Linked DNA regions of Homo sapiens: regions 2 and 3 are each linked to region 1. Evidence: promoter capture Hi-C in 16 types of primary human blood cells and fetal thymus (Javierre and others, 2016). All regions are on one chromosome and are shown on one strand. Each heading gives the region's core, a stretch centred on a gene start or on the middle of the fragment in contact. The rest is flanking DNA. Distances are from core to core; before and after follow the strand shown.

Region 1 (4,397 bases), core at 1,888-4,387:
CCAGCCTAAAAAACCATTTTTCGAAAGTTGCCTGTACCAGCGGAGGCAGAAATTGCAGTCACTATTCTGTGGTGGCTCATCTGCAAACCTTCCTGGCTTGGTGGAGAGGAAGCCTGCACCGTCCTTCCTGTTAGGAGAGAACAGCTCAGTGCATGACACATTAGGGGTGGGTCACACATCCTGCGGACTCATGAACCTCCAAATTAGGCAGCTAATTATTCTGAGGATTCCAAGTCACATTTAAAATCAGCGTCAGCTGAAGTAAAATCAGATGAGTAATTTGCTTCCGGAATGCGAAACACACAACGCAGACTGCTGCTACTTCTTGGGAAGCTGGGCCCGGCCCTCTCAGGAGCACCAGGCTGGGGGTAATGGCCATGACCCTGTCCTGGGAAGGAATAGGGGCCATTCACCTCAGGTTAGGTTGGGTCCTGACTAAGGTGCAAGACTCACGTCAGGATCACACAACCCCTGAGGGTCAAAGGGCAGAGGTGGAGGAAGGACAGAGCAAAGACGGTAGGTCCGACCTGTACAGGGAGTGTTCAGCCCCAAGAAGAGAGACATGAGGGGCAGCATCCCACAATCTTCCACAGGAAGTGCCCTCATTCTGAGAAAGACAGCTGTCAAGTAAGGCACATGACAAGAATAGAAGCAGCTGGGGCAGTGAGGTGGAATCAGAGTCCAGAGGGTCTACAGATGGGCTAAGGGATGCTCAAGGAAGCTCTGTAGAAAGTCTCTCTAGGAGCTTAAAGCCCACGGCCTGGAATGTGAAAGGAAGGGAGTTGGTGGAAGGCTGCTTAGAGTTAGGGGAGTCGGGCATCATGCCAAGAGTGAGCAGATGAACCCCTTTCTACTCCTGGGAGAATGTCCATCCTTCACGTCACTCTGATCATGTGTAGCTGGGCAACTCTTCTTCTCCACACTCTGCTGGCCTTCTCTCCTGACTCCATCAAAGAACATCTCACCTTCTGAATAGATCAAACCTACCTTGGAGTCTCAGGTTAGAAAAAAAGATTACTTTCTTCATTCACCTGTTAACACCCGGCTGGCTTCCCTGCCTTTCCCAGTGCGTGTCAGAACTTCTTGCTAGGATCTACTCACTCATGCTCCTGCTCCCAGGTCTTAGGGTCTTAGAAATACAAATTCATGGCTGGACTCGGTGGCTCATGCCTCTAATCCCATCACTTTGCGAGGCCGAGGCAACAGGATGGCTTGAGCCCAGGAGTTTGAAACCAACCTGGGCAACATGGCGAAACTCCCTCTCTACAAAAAAAAGTTAGCTGGGCATGGTGGCATGCATCTGTGGAGGCTGAAGCAGGAGAACAGCTTGAGACCCGGAGGTCAAGGCTGCAGTGAGCCGTGATAGCTCCACTGCACTCCAGCCTGGGCAGTAGAGCAAGAAAAGAAAAGAAAGAGAGAAAGAAAGAGAAAAAGAAGGAAAGAAAGAGAAAGAAGGAAAGAGAGAGAGAGAAAGGAGAGACAGAGAGAGTAAGAAAGAAAGAAAAAAGAAAAAAGGAGGGAGGCGGGGCAGCAGAAAGAGGAAGAAAACAGAAAGAAAGAAAGACAAATTTATTTAAATATCAAAACAAAAGAGAAACTGAACTAGTGGTAGAAGTTTCTACCATAGAAAGTTTTCAAATTATTGGCTATTTGGAGTCATGCGCGCTCCTTCTCTGTTGCTAAGGCCCCAAAAGATTGCAGCACACGAGGCAGCGCCGGAGAGGACCACTGAGCAGCACGGGCCCTGGCGGGGTAATTCCGAACACCGGCTTAGGAGGCGGGTTTACCAGGATTCTCATTCCAGCCCTGCCACTAATTGTTCAGGGTTCTCAAGGTCGAGCATGCACAAAATCACCCGGAGGGCTTTTAAAACACAAGTCGCCGGGCCCAACCCGAGTTTCGGAATATTTAGGTCTGCGGTGGGGCCCATTTCTTTTCTTTTCTTTTCTTTTTTTCTTTTTTTTTTTTTTTGATACGGAATCTCGCTCTGTCGCCAGGCTGGAGTGCAGTGGCGTGATCTCGGCTCACTGCAACCTCCCCCTCCCGAGTTCAAGCGATTCTCCGGCCTCAGCCTCCCGAGTAGCTGGGATTACAGACGCCCGCCACTACGCCCAGCTAATTTCTTGTATTTTTAGTAGAGACGGGGTTTCACCATGTTGGCCAGGCTGGTCTCGAATTCCTAACCTTGTGATCCGCCCGCCTCGGCCTCCCAAAGTACTGGGATTACAGGCATGAACCACCGCGCCCGGCCAAAATTTCTAATAAGTTCTCAGGTGATTCTGACTGGCGCTGCTGGTGGGGGATCCCACTTTGAGAAACACCCTCTGCTGTGTGAGCAGCTGCCTCCCCGGTACATTCGGAATAATCATAGTAGGTTTAAAGTTTGCTGGGGCTGGGATTCACCTGATACCTGGCACTTGGAGCCCTTGACACAGTTCATGGCACACGGAATACGAGCTCTTGTTGGATGGAGCACAAATGAGAAGCAAACCTGGGGCAGGACCCCGGGGCCCATGGCCGCCCCGCCGCGTTTCCCCCTCCGGGGCAGGCCTCCGGGCTCCGAGCGCTCCAGGCTGGCGCGCAGCACATTCCGGTTCCATGCACCCGCCGCCCGCGGCTCTGCTAATGCCTGTCCTCTTTGGGGTGACTAGGACCCTCCAATCTTTTTCCGCGCTGAAAGCCTGGCCGCAAAGACCGCACCCCCGGGGCGGGCTGAGACGCAGAGAAGCCGGGGCGCCCCTCTGCCGGTCCGCCGGGAGTTCCCGGGCCCGCAGCAGGCTGAGGACACGGCGGGACCCGCTGCACCTGGCCAGGGAGGGGCGGGGCGGGCGCGTTAGTGCAGCTGGGGGAGGTCCCGCCCCGGTCCCACCCTCCCGGCCGTCCGGTGGGGAAACCCGGGAGCCACCCCGCGGCGCGGCTGCGGCTTTGCCTCGGCGCGACAGGTAAGCGGCAGAAGGAGCCCGCGACCCTCTCCCCGGGAGGGCCCCCCTGAGCTCCCCGACTGCTCGGACTTCCCTTCGGCGGATCTCGCTTCTGCCGAGTCCTCGCTCTCACCTCCTCCTCCGCCAGCCTTCGCCTCTTCCTCTTCCTCCTCACTACCCCCGACAGTAAAATGAAGGGGCTGGGCCAGGCTGGTCCCTCCTGCCTTCGCTCTCTGCTGGTCGCGGTGGCCTGTAGCTCCTCCCTCGGTAGGACCCCCCTCCACCTTGGCGCTTACGAGATGAATGAGGAGCCCAGACCTCTGGAACTTGGAGGGGTGAGAGGGGGACAAGCCAGAGCCAGGGCTCCACACCCTCTTCCCCTCACCCACCCATGCCCTGCATTCCTTCTGTGCCCCGTCTCCCCAGATCGGGCCACCCCATGTGCTCTGGTACGGCAACTCTTGCAGAGAGGTTTCCTCCTGCCCTGCCACGTTGCGCCTGAGCAGAAGGGGACAGCAAGGAGAAGCCTCGCTGGTGGAGGTCGGTCTGAGCCCTGCTTGGTTGAATTCCCTCCAGAGCCTGGGGGCTTTTGGGGGTGGGAAGGGATCTGCCTCCTGCTGTGGGGAAATGGAATCTGCTGGGTGTTCATGACTGTGACTGTCACCGACTTCCCTATTTCCTCAGTTGTTCAGATTCCCAGGCTGACAAAAAGGAGAAACAGCTTTTACTTGCATCCAGGGCCAATCATCGCAGACCCAGACGTCTGCAGAGGGTAGGATGGGGCTCTTCTGTGTATGGGGGTGGAGGGTGGTCAGTTTGCCCACAAAGCTTACAGCAGACCCCTTCTAGCAGCCGACAACCCATTGCAGCACTCTCAGAAAGGATGTTAACTCTGTGCTCTGAGCTCGCCCCCAGGCCCACACACACAATTTACAGGCACTGGGTGAGGTTCATAGTTCTGGACACACCAAAGAGCCTCGAGGACTTTTGCGCCTTCTACCAGAGATGTGTGTGCACCACACAGGCCCTATTCTCCGCTCCAGACAGATGAGCTGTCTCCCTTCCCATCAAAGGAAAGGTTAAGAAGGATGAGACAGGGAAATTCATGTGATGATGAAAACCAGGTCAGGTGAGGGGTTTGAAATATGCTTTGGTTCCGGCCACATGTGGTGGCTCATGCCTGTAATCCCAGCACTTTGGGAGGCTGAGGCTGGTGCATCACCTGAGATCAGGAGTTCGAGACCAGCCTGGCCAACATGGCAAAACCCCATCTCCACAAAAAATACAAAAAGTTAGCCGGGCATGGTGGCAGGCGCCTGTAATTCCAGCTACTTGGGAGGCTGAGGCAGGAGAATTGTTTGAACCTGGGAAGCAGAGGTTGCAGTGAGCTGAGATCGCACCATTGCATTCCAGCCTGGGCAATAAGAGCAAAACTCTGTCTCAAAAAAAAAAAAAAAAAAAAAAAGAAAGAAAGAA
Region 2 (4,397 bases), core at 795-3,294, 590 kb before region 1:
AACTTTTGACCTCATGTGATCTGCCCGGCCTCAAGACTCCTTTAAATGTGCCCTCCTCTGTGAGACTCTTCCCAACAATTCCTGTCTCTCTGATCCAATCCTGGGTCAGCCTTTTTTTTTTTTTTTTTTTTGAGACGGAGTCTCGCTCTGTTGCCCAGGCTGGAGTGCAGTGGCGTGATCTCGGCTCACTGCAAGCTCCGCCTCCCAGGTTCACACCATTCTCCTGCCTCAGCCTCTTGAGTACCTGGGACTACAGGCGCCGCCACCACGCCCGGCTAATTTTTTGTATTTTTAGTAGAGACAGGGTTTCACCATGTTAGCCAGGATGGTCTGGATCTCCTCTGACCTCATGATCCACCCACCTCAGCCTCCCAAAGTGCTGGGATTACAGGCGTGAGCCACCGCGCCTGGCCGGGTCAGGCTCTTTCTAATCTGTTTAAAACCATATCACCCAGAAGGTATTCAGTATATACTTATTTAAATGAATTGAAAGTCATATGAGCAGCATGGACTTACTACTTTAAAAACCACATTATTAGAAACCTAACACCTTGGAAGCTCTGCATATTCTGAATGAAGAATATACTAAACCACTCAGAGGGAAATAGTTATTAACCATTTTACCACAGACGACTAAACAACTACCATGGCCCTTCCCTTGTTTCAGCTGGTCTGGGTCTTAAAAAGACTTTGGAAAACCCAATCTACCCTCCTCTAGCAGCAAATCAATTCCCACAGTCAGCCAGGAGGTTCTAACCACTGCCCTACCTCTTTCAACAAGGAACAAGCCCTAGATTTTTGCTGTTTCTAAAAATATGCAGCTTTTAAATATATCCATCATTTTGGTGCTCTCTACTGCAGAGCTTAATAAAAGCAAAGCCACTGAAATTCAGGAGATGTCACAGCTCAAAGTACTCCCGTGTCAAGCAGAATGTCTGGGCATGACTGATGGCATAATTTCCCCACAGAACAACAGTCTTGTCCCACGTCAAGGAAACATACATAAAAACACGCAAAGTTCTCACAAATAAGATCCTCTGCGTTTTAGCTAGAATGGCAACAGTGATCTTTGTGGATGTTTTTTTTCTTTTTTAAGAATGGACTTGAAGCCAAGAATTTGAGACCAGCCTGGGCAACAAAGTGAAACCTTCCACAAAAAAAAAAAAAAAAAAAAAAATTGCCAGGCTTGGTGGCACATGCCTGACATCTCAGCTACTCAGGAGACTAAGGTGGAGGATCTCTTGAGCCCAGGAGGTTAAGGCTGCAGTCAGCTGTGATTGCACAATGGCACTGCAGCCTGGGCAACAACAGAGCGAGACCATATCTTAAAACAAAAAAAAAAAAAAAAAAAAAGGAATGCAATACCATTGTCACAAAAATAATGGTTTATCTTCATTAAAAAAATTCTTTACGAGGCAGGCGGATCACTTGAGGTCAAGAACACAAGACCAGCCTGACTGATGTGGCGAAACCTTGTCTCTACTAAAAATACAAAAATTAGTCGCTGTGGTGGCGCATTCCTGTAATCCCAGCTACTCAGGAGGCTGAGGCAGGAGAATCACTTGAACCAGGCAGGTGGAGGTTTCAGAGAGCGGAAATTGCGCCACTGCACTCCTGCCTGGGAAACAGAGCAAGACTCTGTTTCTAAATAAATAAATACATAAATAAGTAAGTAAAAAAATTCTTTTGCATTCATGTTCACATTTAATAGCTAGCTGAGCTATACCCTGAGACCTAAACAACCCCGAGCTCCTTTATCTTAAATTCTCGTCTTATGCCAAGGTCCAGTGTTTGGTTCATTTCCCTCATCTGAGAAAGACTTGGTCAACAAAAGGCAGTACAGGAAATAGTGCTGATGCTATGCTGGAGGCCCACACTGCCTTTATTTTCACCCCCACCAAAAACCCTTGGGCAACTGGTACAAGTCAATGATTCACCAAATCCCAACTCTAAGCTTTACTGGATGTCCTTAAACTCCCCTTGTGGTTGCTCAGAGATCAATGATTAGCTGTCACCACCTCACAGGAATCTGGCACACTCCTGTTTCTCAAAAGGGGCCCTGAAATTGAGCACTCCACTGCTCAGGTGGGACCAGCTGAATTTTAATAGATGTACGTACAGTTGCAAAGCTTAGAGAGGCAGGACTTCTGTAGTGGATAATTGTGTACTAGACCTTGGGAATCCCACGGAATGAGAGATTTTCTGTGAACCCATTATCTTATCTTATTACACGTCAGACTCCAAAAGAAGGGGAACTAGGAAACCAAATGACTCAATGCTGGTAGAAACAAATGCAGGGCCTCCAGCCTTCTCTACAAGCACTCTATCCTGCTGGGAAACTGATGAAAGCCAACCACAGACATGATGCCCTGAAGAACTTGGTACCTGAGCCAGACCCTGAGGTGGAGAGATCGTAGACAAGATCCTGGAGCGTCTTGTCTTTGGAGAGACACATCTCACATGAGGGATCTTCCATGTCCAGTCTCTGGCGGTTGTGATAGACACGCTGATGATAGTTAATGACAAGGAAAACAATGATGATGATGAGGAACAGGAGGAACACCGGGCCGGCGATGATGCCTACCAGCTCCACCGGGCCCCACATGGACGGGTGCTCAGGCTCCTTGAGGTGACCTGAGTCAAGTGAGAGAGGAGAGGGAAAGAATGAGAAGTAAAAACAAGGGAAAGAGTAAAAACACCCCCCTCAAAGTGAAGAGTGAAAAAGACCCCTTTCCCTGTCGATGTGTTCAGGCTCCCTTGATCTCTCTAATCTTCTGGGCTAGTCTTGCTGCCTAGATGCTCTCAAATGCCCAACTTCTTTAGTTAAGGCACCTCTTTCCACAGTCAAACCCACAACCCACTTTGTCACCTCACGCATTTCGTGGTACTATCCCCGCCTCAGGCCCCTACACAGATGCCTGTTTCTGCCCTTTAACTTCCCACAGCTCCTCTAAGCTCTGCTTTAGTTTCTCTCCTTTTCCTGTGGGCTCCACAGTAATGCCTCCTGAATGGTAGGCTTGCAAAAGGATGGTATGTGGTGTTTCTCGGCTTTGGTCACTGGCCTTTTCCTATTCTGGTCCCTCCTCACATCTAACCATCATCCTCCCTTGAGGAGTCACCTTTGCTCGGCTCTGGGGCCATCTCTTTCTGGATCAGTCCCACATCCTCCCGTGGGAATCCCTGCCTGGTTCTTCCACTCCTCACCGCTGCCTATGGCTGCTAAGCCACTACTCTAAACACTGCGGGCACCTCTGGGACTAACTTGAAAATCTGCTTCCTCACCCTCTAATCTACAAAAGCAACTGCTGAGAAACCCCAGCCTTTGTCACCTTCGGGAACATCCAAAAGGCATCTTTATCGTCAAACCAAGTGAGTGGGCAAGAGTAGAAAAAAATGAAATGACGGGGTACCCTATCTCCAAGCTGAGCCACTAGCCCAACAAGGGCATGCACTCACCACTGGGCACCCTCAAGTCGATCCTGTTGCAGTAGTCAGTGTAGCAGCAGTGGGTGTTGCGCAGGTCCTCCGAGCTCAGGCAGTAGAAGGGCTTCCCGGCAGGGACCAGCTCCACTTTGGGGATGCAGGTGCGCACATGGTGCTCCATCCCATCCAGATTGAAAATGGAAACCATGCAGGCCCCATCTGTCTCACACGTGTAGTTGGCCTGGAGGCAGCTGGTGCACGCACACAGCAGAGCTGCAGGAAATTGGGGAGCAGACATTGACATCAATGGTGAGATCTTTTGCAGGTCCTTTTCCAAACTTAGAATATAATCCCTTAGCATACTTGATGTTCCAAAACAGTTTTTATAGAGATGGGGCCAAAAAGATATCCTTAACTGAGCACAACTTCACCTGTTTATTTAGCTCACAAACAAGGCTTTTGAAGCTCCACTATTATCCTCTAAGTGCTCTACTTTATGCCTGTGAGAGACAGAGGAACTACCTTTTCTTCAAATTGAGATGCCTGACAAGAGGAAAGCATCTTCCTTTTGGAGAATGTGGGGCTGCCCCCCACTTCATGCAGAGCCACCTAGGGTTCCTGGAGCTATCACCAGCCCTATCTCCCCCAGCAGGAACCAAGCACACCCACGGCTTCCTGCAGCATGCATGCTCTCACACATTCTTTTGCTGCAATGCTTTTTTCCTGCCTACTTCTTACATATCCTTCAAAATTCAACTCAAATGTCACTTCTTTTGAAAAGCTTTCCCTGACCACTCCATTATTGTCCTCCTGCCTTTAGAAGTCCAAGTCAGGTGCCCCTCTCATTCACGAGGGGCAAAAATGATATCCTCCAAAGAGAACTTGAGAGCCTCCCTCATGAAGTTATTGTGAGAATTAAGTGAGATAATGCATTAAAAGTGCACAATACATTTAACCCATCCTGAAAGGCCCCT
Region 3 (4,397 bases), core at 1,397-3,896, 550 kb after region 1:
GTATCAGAGGAAAGTAAATTCCATTTTGGACTTATTTAAAATGTGACTCCAATAAAGCTGGAAATATGACTCATCAGGAGAGACCTAGGAGTTGACAGCACATGGTGATTGCTGAAACAGAGGTAGATTAGACATCTCTAGGAAAGAGTACAGAATGACAGAGGGCAGAGGGCAAACTCTAGAAAACACTGCAATGTAAAGGATGACAAAGACTCATCAAAGAAGCAGGAGAAAAAAGTAGAGAATGGTGTCTTAGAAATCAAGAAAAGAGATAATTTCAAGAAGAGAATGTGGTCAACATTGCCAAAGGCTGTAGAGGTCAAAAAGGATGGGAACTGAGATGAAGTCATTGGATTTGGCATGGAAGTGGATCTTTAACAGCATTTGGCCACAAAAATCAGACTGCAGTTGGATTTTATGGGTCAATGGAGATGAAGCAAAGAGAGTCTCTTTTTCAAAGAGTCTAATAGTGAAGGCCAAATCTGGCATGTCTCTTGTTTTCATACAGTCCATAAAGCATGTTTTTTACATTAACAATTTTTTTAAATATAGAGACAGGGTCTCGCTATATTTCCCAGGCTGGTCTCAAACTCCTGGCCTCAAGTGATCCTCCCGTCTTGGCTTCCCAAAGCATTGGGATAACAAATATGAGCCAACATGCCCTACTCTACATTTTTAAATGGCTGAATCAACCACAATATTTCATGACACGTTAAACATATGAAATTCAGATTTCAGTGTTCATAAAGTTTTATTGGATTATAGCCACACTCATTCAATTACTTATTTTCAGTGCTGGTTTTCATGCAATTGTGAGAGAGACCATATGACCTTCAAAGTGTAAAATATTTACTACCTTTATAGGAAGTTTACCAGCCTCTAATTTAAAAGATCCATGATCGAGCATGGTGGCTTACACCTGTAATCCCAGAACTTTGGGAGGCTGAGGCGGGCAGATCACGTGAGGTTAAGAGTTCAAGACCAGCCTGGCCAACATGGTGAAACCCCCTTTTCTACTAAAAATACAAAAATTAGCTGGACATGATGGCAGGCATCTGTAATTCCAGCTACTCCGGGGGCTGAGGCAGAAGAATCGCATGAACCCAGGAGGCGGAGGTTGCAGTGAGCCAAGATTGCACCACTGCACTCCAGCCTGGGTAACAGAGTGACACTCCATTTCAAAAAAAAAAAAGTAAAAAATAAAGGATTCCTGGGTAGGGGGCTAGGGGAGGGATAGCATTAAGAGAAATACCTAATGTAGTTAGATGATGGGTTGATGGGTGCAGCAAACCACCATGGACATGTATACCTATGTAACAAACCTGCACGTTCTGCACATGTACCCCAGAACTTAAAGTATAATAATAATAATAATAAATAAAGGATTCCTTTCAACAAATACACTGTACTATATATAAGGCATTATGGCTATTTGCAAACATAGCTTAGCTGAAAATGGCTGAAGTTAAATGGTCCTCTATCACTTCAAAATATCCCCTAAGAGCATAAAAATAGTTGTGTTCTGAATACGTACCTAGCGTCTTTAGTGCAGTGGGCAGCTGTGAGGACCCACCTCTCTCTCACTAGGGTTCCCCCACATACATGAACAAGAACACGGCCATATTTAATCTGCAGGCTCACCACCCACGGCCATGCGCCAGCTTGTGCTTCGGTGCCCCCTATAATCCGAGACCCTTGCAACACATCCTTAAGCGGTGCTGTTCCACAATCTAAAAATAAAAATGATATATTATTTGGACTGAGCATCTATAGTATGTGTTACTTCCTAAGCTGAACATATTAATGCAATCCTTTAAATTCCTATGTTAAAAACACAAAGCAAGCTAACATACCGGAGACACGCCCATATTTTGAAAGAAACTTGGAGAGTTAAGACAAATATGCCATAATCGATTACTTACAAATAGACATGAAGTCAACACAATTCATTAATTTTAAAACTCTATTCCCCAAAAATATAAAAATAAAAATTTTTGGCCACGTATCACATTCTTCCCTGTGTGAAATAGCAGTTAAAGAGCCTGGGAACGGTGAGTCGAGAGCCGCAAATTCTAATGCTCACCATTTCACTTGTTGGGCTAATTTTTCTCAACTATAGTATGAAATGGTCACCTAATAGCCCTCCCTTTCAACTCTTTATCCCCTGACTTATTAATCTATAAAATGGGGATGATAAAACCCAGAATGTTTTGAGGAGAAAATACAGATTCACAATACAAATGTGTCATTTCACTATTACAACTACTGTTATTACAGCCGGTCTAGAAACTGCTTAGGTATGTAAAATTTTGGTTAAAGGCCATTGGGACAACAGAAAAGGAGAAACCCGAATTCAAAGACTATAGCGGTGGGGAAAAGGTAAGAGAGGCTCCCCAGAGACAGGCACGAACAGGTACTGCCCTCTGCATGCGCCCCTCCCTCCCTCCGCCGCCGGAGCCTCTTGCGGACGGCCTCAGCCTGCTGGGAACTAGCCGCCGGTTCCGGCGAGGGGCCGAGCCTGTGCCTTCCAGAGGGCGAGTAGTGGTCTGAGTATAAGTGAGAGCTCCCCACAAACAACAGCGCCACGCTCAGGAGCCCCAGCCGCATTTTGGAGGCTGGTGAGCAAGATGGCGGCAGGTACTTCCCACCCGCCCTGGGCACGCGGGGCGCACGGCCTGGCGGGGAGGCGCGAGTGAGGCCCGGAGGTGTGGGAGGCGGCCGAGGAATAGGTAGGTCAGTTTAGAAAGAACCCCTCACCCTCAAGGTCTGATCGGCTTCCTCATCCACCACTATCCCCCAGGTGATGTCTGATCACCCTGGCCTGTCCAGCAAGAATCCTGTTAGGTCGGTTAGCCGGAATGCCATTACTCCTGATGCTACCTCTTAGTAATTTTCCATCCACTGACACGTCTCTCCTGCTCCGTGGCTGTAAATTCTCCCTTGGCTCTGCTCTGTTTGGATTTTAGCCCAGTCCCTCTACCCATTACAAAATCCCATTGCCATGGTCCCTATCCCTATCTGGATGGTCCTGAATAAAGTCTGCCTTGCTGTGCTTTAATGAGTATCACTGAATAATTTTTCTTTAACATAACCCAGAGTTTTTAAGAGTGATACCTAATGTTCAGTTTTAAATTGTTCTGTCATTCCTATCTTGACCTATACTGAACTTTGCCTTTGTTAACCCAACACCTTCAGTAATAAGAAGACCGTGTGGGCTGTGGGAAGTTGGTGAGGTGGTGGAGAGTTAACGTAGAGGTCAATAAAAGGACAGTTGCCTTGCTCATACCATCCTTCCGAGGCTGGTGCAGTTGGCAGCATTAGATAAAAGGAGTATATGAGTTTGGGGCTTACACATGGTAACATGTGGGGAAGGGAGCAGAGTCTCAGAGCTGTGCCGAAATTGGGGTGGAGGAGGTGATATTGGAGAAACAAATTGCAGCATGAGCTGATCTCTGAGGGCTGACAAGAAACAAAGTCCTTATTCCCCAGATATTTTAGTGGAAGGTGATATTAGGAGGAGAAAAACACAGTTGGGGTGTGTGTATTTCTGTGTGTGTGAGATGTGGTCAGATTGTGTATGCCTTTGTAAACAAGGCAAGATGACTTTTTTTTTCTTTTTTTAAACCCATAGCCAACGTGATAAGGATGACGGGTCTTGCTATGACAGATAGTAGAGGTTTAACATACTCATAAAGCAAGTATATGCAGCCAAGTCATCAAATAGCAGTGACACAGGCAGTGGGCTGGGCACGGTGGCACATGCCTGTAGTTCTATTATACAGCACTGCTTTAAACAATATATTTTTTAGTTTTACTACTCAGGAGGCTGAGGCAGGAGGATTGCTTGAGCCCAGGAGTTCTGGACTGTAGTATGCTATGTCAACTGGTCAACTAAGTTTGGCATCAATATGGTGACCTTCGGGTAGTGGGGAACCACCAGGTTGCCTAAGGAGGGGTAACTGGCCCAGACTGGAAATGGAGTTGATCAAAATTCCTGTGTTGATTGGTAGTGAGATCATGCCTGTGAATAGCCACAGTACTCCAGCCTGGGCAACAAAGCAAGACCCCATCTCTCCAAATAAAATGAAAAAGGCAGTGGATCAATAACTGCAGAGGTCTTCTTCCTGGATTTCCTCTGCCTTTTCTCCTCTCCTGCATTGTCATTTCCTGTCTTTGGTGGGATCACTCCTATCTGCAGACAAATATCCTCTGGTATGGTAGGTAGCCTACAAAATGCCCGCCAATGAACCCTGTCTCCTGGTATTCACAGCCTTAGTCAGTTCCCTCTCCTTTAGTGTTGGCTGGATTTCGTGACTCACTTCTAGTAAATAGAAAGTAGAGGTGATGGGCTACCACTTTCAAGATTAGGTTATAAAAAGATTGTGACTTCTGTCCTG

Evidence for each region. Contacts are between HindIII fragments. The CHiCAGO score rates a contact against its expected background, and 5 or more counts as called.
Region 2: a fragment that was not itself captured here is called in contact with the fragment with the promoter of GALNT6 in region 1 in 2 of 17 cell types (M1 macrophages and megakaryocytes); the score reaches 6.5 in M1 macrophages.
Region 3: the fragment with the promoter of TMPRSS12 here is called in contact with the fragment with the promoter of GALNT6 in region 1 in 7 of 17 cell types (activated CD4 T cells, naive B cells, naive CD8 T cells and 4 more); the score reaches 9.4 in activated CD4 T cells.

The regions. Positions count from the first base shown.
Region 1 is chr12:51,390,146-51,394,542 of GRCh38, reverse strand. It overlaps GALNT6 (polypeptide N-acetylgalactosaminyltransferase 6), which reads left to right and starts at 3,137. Exons shown (of 12, transcript NM_007210.4): 1 at 3,137-3,256; 2 at 3,606-3,693. It also overlaps a transcript of SLC4A8 not described here. RefSeq lists enhancers at 657-746, 2,790-3,374, 3,375-3,960 and a silencer at 2,565-3,104. The HindIII fragment of the contact is 14,269 bases long and covers 1-3,751 here.
Region 2 is chr12:51,974,564-51,978,960 of GRCh38, reverse strand. ACVR1B (activin A receptor type 1B) reads right to left here. Exons shown (of 9, transcript NM_004302.5): 2 at 3,457-3,696; 3 at 2,386-2,634. Among named protein-coding and RNA genes, the nearest start is that of ACVR1B, 25 kb to the right of the region's middle. The HindIII fragment of the contact is 175 bases long and covers 1,957-2,131 here.
Region 3 is chr12:50,841,175-50,845,571 of GRCh38, reverse strand. TMPRSS12 (transmembrane serine protease 12) reads right to left here and starts at 2,646. Exons shown (of 5, transcript NM_182559.3): 1 at 2,421-2,646; 2 at 1,535-1,730. The coding sequence starts at 2,607. It also overlaps the pseudogene RN7SL519P. The HindIII fragment of the contact is 6,106 bases long and covers 1-4,397 here.